Regions from separate parts of the Homo sapiens genome. Here all the other regions are linked to region 2. Evidence: promoter capture Hi-C in 16 types of primary human blood cells and fetal thymus (Javierre and others, 2016). All regions are on one chromosome and are shown on one strand. Each heading gives the region's core, a stretch centred on a gene start or on the middle of the fragment in contact. The rest is flanking DNA. Distances are from core to core; before and after follow the strand shown. Region 1 overlaps TAOK3 (TAO kinase 3). Region 2 holds the start of SLC15A4 (solute carrier family 15 member 4). Region 3 holds the start of ANKRD13A (ankyrin repeat domain 13A). Region 4 holds the start of MED13L (mediator complex subunit 13L).

Region 1 (2,700 bases), core at 26-2,525, about 10 Mb before region 2:
TTCCTCACTATCTACTGTTCAAAGTTCAAACCTCCTGTTATGTGGCTCTAAGGCTTTTGATTTGCCACTATCCCTGAATATCCTACATTTTGTTCACTATGTCTGTAGGCCAAAAAATACATTGATTATGTCCACCACGCCTGCTGAAAAGGTATCCACAATTCAAGACTCAGTTCAAACTCCATCTCCATGTTACCCCATCTCCCTAGTACGGAAGTAATCTCTTCCTTCTTCATGTATAGAAAGTACCTGACAGCTTCTTGCTGACCTTGATGTCATTCTATTTTGCCTTTAAAGGACATGGACCTTTCTTAATTCCATTAATTGAATATGACTTGCATCAGGATTCTTATTCGCTTTCCATAGTGCCTTCAATGGAGGAGGCAGTGTTAAACACAGACTATTCATCTGGAATTAAAGACTACTTGTCCAGCCTCTGAGCTAAAGTCTAAGTCTGCTTCTGCCTTATTTCTTTCTTTCTTTCTTTTTTTTTTTTTTGAGACGGAGTCTCGCTCTGTCACCCAGGCTGGAGTGCAGTGGCACAATCTTGGCTCACTGCAAGCTCTGCCTCCCGGGCTCACGCCATTCTCCTGCCTCAACTACCCGAGTAGCTCGGACTACAGGTGCCCGCCACCACGCCTGGCTAATTTTTTGTATTTTTAGTAGAGACAGGGTTTCACCATGTTAGCCAGAATGGTCTCGATCTCCTGACCTCTTGATCCACCCGTCTCAGCCTCCCAAAGTGATGGGATTACAGGCGTGAGCCACTGCGCCCAGCCTCTGCCTTATTTCTGAAGAAAAGATATGGGATAAGAATTAGCTAAATACACAATATTATGTGTGTTTTTGTGAGGGGGGAGAAAAAAAATAATTTCTTTTTTTTTTTTTTTTTTTTGAGAACGGGTCTCACTCTTGTTGCCCGGGTCTCACTCTTGTTGCCCGGGTCTCACTCTTGTTGCCCAGGCTGGAGTGCAGTGGCGCGTTCTTGGCCCACTGCAACCTCTGCCTCCCAGGCGGTTCAAGCAATTCTCTTGCCTCAGGCTCTTGAGTAGCTGGGATTACAGGTGCTCACCACCACACCCAGCTAATTTTTGTATTTTTAGTAGAGTTGGGGTTTCACCATGTTGCCCAGGCTGGTCTCAAACTCCTGACCTCAGGTGACCGCCCACCTTGGCCTCCCAAAGTGCTGGGATTACAGGCATGAGCCACCGCGCTGGCTGATTCAAATCATTTCAAAGCATTTTCATTTTAATTATTTTACAAAAAGTAATTATGAGCAATTCCACTCTAGGTATATACCCAAGAGAATGGAAAAATATGTTCATTTAAAAACTTGTATATTTACTGTCACAGAAACATTATTAATATCCAAAAAGTAGAAGCAGCCAAAATATCCATCAACTCTTGAATAATCAGAATGTGGCACACAGATATAATGAAATATTATTTGGCCATAAAAAGGAATCATCACTGATGTACGCTACAATGTGGATGAATCTTGAAACATTATGCTAAGTGAAGATGTCAGACACAAAAAGACACATATTGTCTTGTTCCAGTTATACAAAATGTCCAGAGTAGGCAAATCCATAGAGACAGAAAGTAAATTAGTGCTTACCAGGGGTTGGGGATAATTGAGAGTGGCTGCTAACAGGTACAAAATTCTTTTTGGTGTAATGAAAATGTTCTAGAGTTAGATAGTGGTGAGGTTAGATATTGTAACAACATCACAAATATACTAAAAACCTGAATTTCATAATTTAAAAAGGTAAGTTTTATATCATAAAATTTTATCTAAATTAAAAAAAACACAAAAAACAGTTATTAGTTTCATGCCCCAAATGACAGCTTCAATTTGTGGTATAAAGGAAAAGAGCTCTGACCTTTCAATCAGCAAATCTAGGTTTCAGCCAAGTCACTTAACTCTCTTACTTAACTGTGGCGTCTTTAGGATGCAGCTGAACTTCTCTAAGCCTTCATAACCTCATCTACAAAGTGAGGATATAATGCCTTACAAAGTCACTGTGAGACTCACAATATAACATAAAATTATTATTTCAAATGAATAAAATCTGATAGTTATTTTGCATGCCTAAAATGATTTTTTAAAAATCCTAAACTGTATTGAATAGCCCATAACTTCACTGAATAGTCCACAACTTTTTATTGTTGCCATGTTATCTAACCAGCTTTTGTATTGTCATATATGAATGACATCTTGGGGCCACGTAGCACTTATCCTGTAGGCACTAATAGAACAGTACAGAGTTATTTAATTCCAATCTTCACAATGAGGGGTACATGGCCCAACAGTTATAAACACAGGCATAGAACTGAGTTTAAGTCCAGGTTCTGCCACAGATCTTGAACAAACCACCTAACCTCTCTGAACATCAGTATACACCCCTGTAAAGTCTATGTAAGAATATGTATGTGAATCTACACAAATATCCATTATAGAGGTTCGTTGAGATACTCATTATATAAAGCATGTATTGTAATACCTAGCACCTAACAAGCACTCATTCAGCAATTGTTATTGTTGTTGTCCATCCTATGGAGTAACAAGTTTAAATGACGGGTCTTCAGCTACAAGACAAATTTGAGGCCAGGCATGGTGACTCACGCCTGTAATCCCAGCACTTTGGGAGGCTGAGGCAGGTGGATCACCTTAGGTCAGGAGTTCGAGACCAGCTTGGC
Region 2 (2,700 bases), core at 76-2,575:
CCTCTGCCTCCCGGGTGCAAGCGATTCTCCTGCCTCAGCCTCCCGACTAGCTGAGAGAACAGGTGCCCGCCACCACGCTCGGCTAATTTTTGTATTTTTAGCCAGGCTGGTCAGGCTGGTCTCGAACTCCTGACCTTAGGTGATCCACCCACCTCGGCCTCCCAAAGTGTTGGGATTACAGGCGTGAGCCACTGCGCTCAGCGTATTTTTTAAATTTTATTTATTTATTTTTTTGAGGTGGGGTCTCACTCTGTTACCCAAGCTAGAGTGCACTGGTGTGACCCTAGCTCACTGCAGCCTCCGAAACTCGTAGGCTCAAGGAATCCTCCTTTCTCTGCTAGGACTACAGGTGTGCGCCTCCACGGAGGGCAAATTTTTAAATTTTGGTAGAGATGAGGTCTCACTGTGTTGCCCAACCTGGTCTCAAAGTCCTGGGCTCAAGAGATCCTCCCGCCTCGGCCTCCCAAAGTGCTGGAATTACAGGCGTGAGCCACCGCGCCCGGCCTCTCTTTTCTTTAAAGCCACTGTGGCCATCACTGTGTGTGTAGACCTCACCCCGCCCCAGGCAAACCCCTTCCAGCACCCATCACACCGGTACCTCCAGTCTTGGCCCACCTGCTGGCGGGATTCCTCGGCACTAGACAGAAGCCCCCCGGGGCAAGGGGCTCCCTCCGCGGTCAGAGGCAGGGACTGGGGCAGGGGAAGAGGCTGGGGCTGGGCAGGGGCTGGACAGGGACAGGGACAGCGCGCGGGGGCGCGGCTCACCTGGTCGGCGCCGAAGGGCGTGATGTTGGCCTTGACGGTGGCCACGCCCAGGCCCACCAGCACCAGCCCCGCGAAGGTGGCCGGTGAGCAGCAGCGGGCGGCGGCGTCGGGACCAGGCGCCGTGCAGTTGAGCAGGCGCGCGGAACCGCAGAGCGCGGCTCGCGTGGCGGGCGCGGCCAGCAGCGGGAAGGCCAGCATGCCCAGCAGGTAGAGCGCCAGGCTCAGCAGGATGGCGCGCGCCCGGCCCAGCCGCGCGTCGGCCAGCCAGCCTCCGAACGGCGAGCCCAGGTAGGTGAGGCCCATGAAGAGCAGCAGCGCCTCGCTGGCCTGCGCGCCCTCCCAGCAGAACGGCGCCCCGTTCAGGAATAGCACCAGGTTGGACGTGATGCCGTAGAAAGCGGCGCGCTCCAGCAGCTCCGTCAGCAGCACGGCCCCGCACGCCGCGCGCCGGCCCGCGAACGCCCCAGCCGCCGCCGCGGCCGCCGCCGCCCGCCGCGCGCCCAGCAGCGGCGCCCGCTCGCCCGCACCGCCCCCAGAGCCCTCCATGCGACGCCGCCAGCTGCCTCGCCCCGCCGCCGGGTCACCTGTCCCAGAACCCAGGGCCGCCGCCCTTCTCGCGAGACTGCCGGGCCTGAGATGTCCCTATTGGGCGGGCTCGCCGCTGCTCAACGCCCCACTCGCCGGAACTTCCGGCCCCGCCCCGGGCACTAGGCGAGGAGGTGGCCGGTATTCTGGATCACTGCGTGTCTTGGGGAGCTTGGGATTCCGCAGCTTGGCGGCCGAGAGCCTTTGTTTGCCTTTTTGAGACAGGGTTTCCCTCTCTCGCCCAGGCTGGAGCGCAGTCATGCGGTTACGCCTCACTGCAGCCTCAGCTTCCCAGGATCAAGCGGCCCTCCCACCTCAGCCTCCCGGGTAGCTGGGACCGCAGGCGCTCGCCGCTGCCTGTGGCTAATTTTTAAACAGTTTTTTGAAATGGGGTCTCGCTTTGTTGCTCAGGTTGGTCTCGAACTCCTGGCATCAAGCGTTCCTCACGTCTCAGCCTCCCATAGTGTTGGAATTACGTGCATGAGCCACTGCAGGCAGTCGGACTAAGGGAGTTTAAACAAAGAAGCCGGAGCCTGGCCCTCTTCGGGCTTCGGTGGGGCCCAGTAGGCAGCCAAAACTCACACTGAGACGGCGGCTGCTCTCCAGGCGGGTTTGCTCAGGCTGCCCCCGTGCTCCCTGCCCTGGGCTTCAGTCCTGGAGAGGACCCGGTTTCTCAACCCGTGCATCGTTGGCACTTTGAGCGACGGGACTGTCCTGTGCGTTGCACGATGTTCAGCAGCAGCTTTGGCCTCTGCTATCCACTAGGGGCCAGTTCCACCCCCTAGCACCTCAGGTTAACAACCGAAAATGTCTTCTAGACTTTGCCGAAGGACTCCTGGGGGCAAATACGCCCCCATTGAGACTCACTGGCTTAGAACAAGGCAAGCTCCAGCCTGTTTCAGGCTTTCCCAGAGACTGCCCCTACACCATCTATGGTTGCATGGCTGGCTTCTCATCCTTCAACCTTCCACCGAAGTGTTGACTTCAGAGAAACATTTTTTTCACTAGCCTGTCCAAGGCCCGAGTATCCCATTCCATCATGTTACTCTTTTCTCCTTATTACCTGTTACATTTTTTAATTTATTCGTTTATCTCCCCAACCTGCATGTGTTAACAGGTGTAAGCTTCCTGATGGCAGGATTCTCTTGTGTTTTGTTCCTCACTGTGCCCCCTGCCTCTGGGACAGCGCCTGGCACATAGTGGAGTGAAAGAGTGCCGCCCAAAAATGGCCCTCAGCATGGCTTCAGAAATTGAGACCCCGGCCTGGGATGGTGGCTCACGTCTACAATCCCAGCACTTTGGGAGGCCGAGGCGGACGGATCACGAGGTCAAGAGATCGATACCATCCTG
Region 3 (2,700 bases), core at 82-2,581, about 19 Mb before region 2:
AGAAGGAGAACGTTAAGTTGCAAAAGGCATCTGAAAGAATGAGAAGTGCTGGAAAAGGCCTCAGAAGCACTGGTCTTGAGTCCATCTCTACAGTGTGATAAATGTGTGATGGAGAAATAATCACAGAATTCCCACGCATTCCATGGTTAGAGTCTCCGGGTGCCATCCTGGTGCTCCTGCATCCTGTTTTGGTTTAACAACTCACAAATCTTCTGGGCTCCACATCTGTGGAGAATGGATTAGGTTGGGATTCTTGAACAGCTGTTGTTGCAGGCATCTGAAGAGCTGGATGTGCATACACTCAGAGGGCAGAGGGAATGTTTTCACAATGCATTAAATAGCTTCATCCAGCTATGTGGTCTAGTTGTAGACAGCTGAGCTGAAGCAGCAGCAGAAAGTTCAAGCCCATGAGTAGCTAGCTGTAAGTTGATTTGGTTCTTCATTGAGTCAAGGAGGCATAGTGCCTGAAACTCAAAGAATAAACTTCATATTCGCAGACTGTGGTCAAATATGTATATTATTTATCAGTCCTTTCAGCCATAACCTCAAATCCAAAAAGCTAGCTTAAAAATGACATTCATACATGGACTAAATCACCACCATAGTTAGCTATTGAATCATAACCCGGTTCGGAGTTCAAATAGAAGCGGTTCTCAACTGAGGACGATTTTTCTCCCCGAGACGACATTTGGCAATATCTGGAGAGACATGTTTTGGGGAGTGCTACTGGCATTGAGTGGGGAGAAAGACCAGGGCAACTGCTCAGCATCCTACAAGGACCGGACAACCCCCACACAAAAACTGCCCAGTTCAATATGTGCCGAGGTTGAGAAATCATGAAGTAGAAATATCCCCTTTTATGCAAATACTGTATTTGAAGCCACTTCGCCAGGGTTTAGCGTTCCTCCTTCAAAAATTGTCCGGTGTTGCCCACTTCCAAAATGGCTTTTGACCCGTCGTGGAAGCATCTGTCCTGCTCCAAAAAGGCTGCAAGGGTGTCGGCAGCTGGAATGGTTTGGTCCGGGGCTCAGTTGTCACCCCCTGACTTCAGAGCCAATGGAAGAGGCCCAGTTGTGGACCGAACCACATGGGGCTACTGGAGCAGGGGGAAAGAAGCTGGGGACAGGTAGACGGAACTTTCCGCGTGGAGATCTTTGGCCAAGAGAATGAGCCTCAGCTCTGTTCTGTGGGCTGCACTGAGTTTCTCGGTGTGAGCTGGAGGTGGGTGCAATGGCGCGGACCCCGGACCCGGTGCCCAAGGTCGCCTATCCCCGCCGCGGCATGCGGTGGTTCGCTCTCCGCACTTCCCTGTTTGGGGCAGTTAGGTCCGCAGAAGTCTGTCCGCGAGCTGTCAGCGCGGGCGGGAACGCCGCGGGGCGCGGGGTGGGCGCGGCCGACCTGGTCCCTGAGCCGGCCGGCGACCCCGGACCTCCCGCGCGCCCCGCACCCGACCGGCTCAGCCGGCCGGCAGCGTAACACGCCCTACGCTCGCTTGCTCGCCGGCCTCAGGGCAGGCAGGCGGGCGCGGGAGACCCCGCCGGGGCCGAGACTTGGGGCGGGCGACGAGGACCAGGTTACGGCCTCCTCGCCATGTCCTCGGCCTGCGACGCGGGCGACCACTACCCCCTGCACCTCCTAGTCTGGAAAAACGACTACCGGCAGCTCGAGAAGGAGCTGCAGGGCCAGGTGAGGGGCGGGGCGGGGGTCCGTCTCCCGGTGGGGACTTCGGGGAATCGGGGGTCGTTTCGCCTCCCTGAGCCCATTTCCAGCCCTCTGTCCCCGGGATCCCCAGACCCCTTCCACTTTGCAGGTGTGGGACAGTCCTAATAATAGGACACGTATCGAGTGCTTACCGTGCGACGGGCTTTTTAAATATCTTCTCTCTTCACCTTTCCAATAACGCTGGTGGGTAGGTACTGTTACTTTTCCACTGGACAGAGAAGGAAACAGGTCCTCAGACGCTACGTGCCTTGTGCGAGGCCGCCCCGCTGATAAATGCCAAGTCGGGATTTTAACTCGGGCCGGCTGGCTCCGGAATGCACCGTCTTAACCATTTTTAGGTTCTGCTGCCTCAAAGACGTAAGAATAGCACACTCTCCTTGTTGTAAGGAAGGGCTTGGTTGGTTTTGGAGTCCAGGTTCTAACTCGCCCTGTGACCTTGGGCAAGGCATTTTCCCTCTCTGGCCGACGTTAACTTAGCTGTAGAATGAGGATGTTGGTGCTGGGGCAGAACCCAACACTTGACTCTATTGATAGGTCTGGGGTGAGGTCCAGGTGCCGCATTTTTAACAAACTCCCCAGGGAGGCTGATACCTAGCAAAGTTTGAGAATCACGGGTTCTCAGGCTCCTTAAAATCCCTTCCTGTTCTAAAGTGCTTTGATGCTTTAATCTTTTCATTATTGCTATCTCTTTAAAGCAGTAGTGCTCTCAGTTGGAGGTGATTTTGCACCCACGACCCCCCGGGGACATTTGGCAATGTATGGGACATTTTTGGTTGTTGAAAGTGGGGAGTGGGTGCTTCTGGTAGTGGGTAGAGGCCGGTTATGCTGCTCAACATCCTACAATGGCCAAGACAGCCCCCCGCAACTAAGACTTCTCCGGCCCCCAAAGCCGACAGCGTCTTGGTTGAGAAACTCTGCTTTTCTTTCTTTCCTTCTTTTTTTTTTTTTTTTTTTGAGACTGAGTTTCGCTCTTGTTGC
Region 4 (2,700 bases), core at 75-2,574, about 13 Mb before region 2:
ATAGAGAAAAACAGTTTTTAAAAGACACAGGAGGAGAGAAAGAAGAAAAAGCTTTCTCCACCTTCCGTCGGCTCGGTGCAATGGCTTTACGGCTCTCCAGCATAGTAAGCCCCGAGAGGCAGGCGGCTGTCGATGTTTACAATCGCGGGAGCTTCGGGTGCAAGAGTCCTTTCCTGACACAATCGCATTCAATCAACTATTTTAGGGCGAAATTGCAGGTGTCATTATGGAATTTAAAAAAATTCAAAAGGCAGGCGGGCGGGCAGGCAGCTGATCCAACAACGGGGGAAGAGGTTGCCGATCGGAGGCGCGGCAGCACAAGGCAAAGCCTTCCACATTTACGGGGGGAAAAAAAGGGGGGAAAGGGGAGGAGAAGGGGAGTGCGATTGCAACAGAGGGTGGGCGTTCGAAGTGCGACCCAGAATCCGCAGCTCCGAGACTTCCACATGCAAATTCCACGCCGAGCGCCGCGCTCACAAATGATTTTTAAAGAGCCAAATAAACACTGGATGGGATCCAAGGCGAGAGAGAGACGATCCAAAAGGGGGAGAATCGGCGAGAGGCGAACGGCGGGGAGACGCGAGGGAGGGGCGAAGTCCCGGCGGCGGGAGGAGAAAGTTGGTCGGCGGCGGAGGTCGGGGACCCCCCCCCTTCCCCGGCACAGCCCCCTCCCCGCAGCCCGGCTACTCACCAGCGAAAAGAGGTTGGAGTGACAATCCTCCAGGCTCGCCCCGTTCGCCACCCAGTTCGCTGCCGCAGTCATGATCCTCCGCGAGCCCGGCCGCCAGAGCGGGGCATGTCGGAGCGAGGCGTCCGAGGCGAGGCCGGGCCGGGCGGCGGCGCCTCGCCGGGGAGCGCGGGGCGGCCGGGCCGCCGCCGCCGCCGGGGGAGGGCGCGAGGGCCGGCGGGCAGGCGGGAGGCGCCGCGGCGACGCCGCGCCGGGGGCAGCGGGCCCGGGCTGGCGGGGGGGGCGCGCGCCCCGGGCCGGCGCTGCGGGCCGGCCACCGCCTCCGCCTTCCCTGCTCCTCAGCCGCCGCCGCCGCCGCTGCTGCCGCTGCCGCCGCCTTGTTTATCTCCAGCCACCGACTCCCCCTCGGCCCCCGCCGGCGCGCGAGGGGAGGCGAGCCCCGGAGCCGCCGCCGCCGCCTCGGAGCCGCCGCCGCCGCGGAGCGCGAACTCGCGAAGGGGGGGGTGCGGACGAAGCCAGCGGGCGACCCCGGCAGCCGAGCGACGTCCCCTCCTTCCTCTTCCTCCCCCACCCCCCCCTCCTCCCCAGTCAGCCTCGCTTCTCCTCCCTCCCCGGGCTCGCTTGCTCTGACAGCAATGGCGGCCGCCGACCGCGGCTCGGCCCGCCATTGGCTGGCGCTTGGTCACGTGACGGGCGCCGGCCGCGCGGGGGGAGCGAGGGGCGGGCGGGGGAGGGGTCCGGAGTGGCGGCGGCGGCGGCGGCTCGCGGGAGGCGCTGCTGAGCTGAGCGCGGCCGGGTCCTCCGGCCGGGAAGAGGGAGGGAGGGAGGCAGAGAGGGAGAGAAAGAAGTGCGGGCGGCCGGGCTCCCCGGCGGGCGGCGGACTGCCGGCCCGTGGCTGCCGTGGGCTGCCCCTCGTGGCCGCCCCGCCCCCTCGCGGTGCACTGATCGTGGCGGGGCGGGACCGTGGGTCCCGGGCGCGCCCGTGGTGGCCGCGGAGGAGGGCGCGGGACCCCCGGCCTGTGCCCTCGCAGCCCAGGCCGGCTGGCGTGGCGCGGCGGCCGCGATGTGGGCCAGGCAGCGGGTCCGAGTGCCCTGGGGAATGTGTCCTCAGAGGCTCGCGCCGCCGTCCGCCTTTTGCAGAGGAGAAAACTAAAGCACAAAGGGATTAAATCACTTGCCCGAGGTCGCACACTTGGGAAGAGGAGTCCAGATTCGAACCCGCGCACAGTGAAGCCAAGCTCTTGGACAAGGTTTCACAGGCTTCGCCCAGGGATATTCACGGCTGCCATAGACGGAGCGCTTACTGTGTTCCAGACACTGTGCGTTTAATACAGAAATGTTTATTGAGCCCTTACTCCTAGTTACTGTGTGCACTCATTCATTCATTCATTCATTCATTACATAAATGTTTCCTGAGCTCCTGCTGTGTGCCAGAATCTGTTATAACTTCCAGGCACTGTGCTAAGGCCGTGTTGGGAGCAGACCCTTCTTCCTGGCGTCATTCATTGGATAACCAACATTTCCTGAGTGTATATGGCCTGGGAGTCCGGAGGAGTGCTGCTATGAAGAGAAGCTCTCCCAGTCCTCAAGAAATGGATCCCCGAAAAGGGGGAGGAGAAAACAATGTCTTCACTAATACGCCTCCAAACATGGAACAATCAGCTGTTTCAGGTAGATTAAGCTAAAAGAGGAAGAGTGGATGGCTGGCACAGTGGCTCACGCCGGTAATCCTAGCCGAGGTTTAAGACCAGCCTGAGCAATGTAGCAAGAACCCCCGTCATGACAAAAAAAATAAAATACAAAAATACAAAAATTAGCCAGGCGTAGTGTGGCATGTGCCTGTAGCCCTAGCTACTCGAAAGGCTGAGGTGGGAGGATAACTTGAGCCCTGGAGGCAGAGGCTGCAGTGAGCCCAGTGAGCCGAGGTCGCATCACCGTACTCCAGCCTGAGTGACAGAGAGAGGCCCTGTCTCAAAAAAAAAAAAAAAAAAAAAAAGGAAGAGTAGAAAGCA

What was found. Contacts are between HindIII fragments. The CHiCAGO score rates a contact against its expected background, and 5 or more counts as called.
Region 1: a fragment that was not itself captured here is called in contact with the fragment with the promoter of SLC15A4 in region 2 in 1 of 17 cell types (M0 macrophages); the score reaches 9.1 in M0 macrophages.
Region 3: the fragment with the promoter of ANKRD13A here is called in contact with the fragment with the promoter of SLC15A4 in region 2 in 1 of 17 cell types (neutrophils); the score reaches 7.8 in neutrophils.
Region 4: the fragment with the promoter of MED13L here is called in contact with the fragment with the promoter of SLC15A4 in region 2 in 1 of 17 cell types (neutrophils); the score reaches 10.0 in neutrophils.

What each region holds. Positions count from the first base shown.
Region 1 is chr12:118,347,971-118,350,670 of GRCh38, forward strand. All of the region lies in intron 1 of TAOK3 (TAO kinase 3), which reads right to left. Among named protein-coding and RNA genes, the nearest start is that of TAOK3, 24 kb to the right of the region's middle. The HindIII fragment of the contact is 4,674 bases long and covers 1-2,700 here.
Region 2 is chr12:128,822,633-128,825,332 of GRCh38, forward strand. SLC15A4 (solute carrier family 15 member 4) reads right to left here and starts at 1,326. Exons shown (of 8, transcript NM_145648.4): 1 at 766-1,326. The coding sequence starts at 1,311. LOC124903083 (a long non-coding RNA gene) reads left to right here and starts at 1,312. Exons shown (of 2, transcript XR_007063602.1): 1 at 1,312-2,700. RefSeq lists an enhancer at 1,077-1,236. The HindIII fragment of the contact is 5,029 bases long and covers 1-2,472 here.
Region 3 is chr12:109,998,099-110,000,798 of GRCh38, forward strand. ANKRD13A (ankyrin repeat domain 13A) reads left to right here and starts at 1,332. Exons shown (of 15, transcript NM_033121.2): 1 at 1,332-1,686. The coding sequence starts at 1,591. It also overlaps a transcript of GIT2 not described here. RefSeq lists an enhancer at 1,056-1,245 and silencers at 1,326-1,445, 1,456-1,545. The HindIII fragment of the contact is 22,332 bases long and covers 1-2,700 here.
Region 4 is chr12:116,276,369-116,279,068 of GRCh38, forward strand. MED13L (mediator complex subunit 13L) reads right to left here and starts at 1,325. Exons shown (of 31, transcript NM_015335.5): 1 at 692-1,325. The coding sequence starts at 763. RefSeq lists silencers at 1,154-1,623, 1,674-1,733. The HindIII fragment of the contact is 4,130 bases long and covers 50-2,700 here.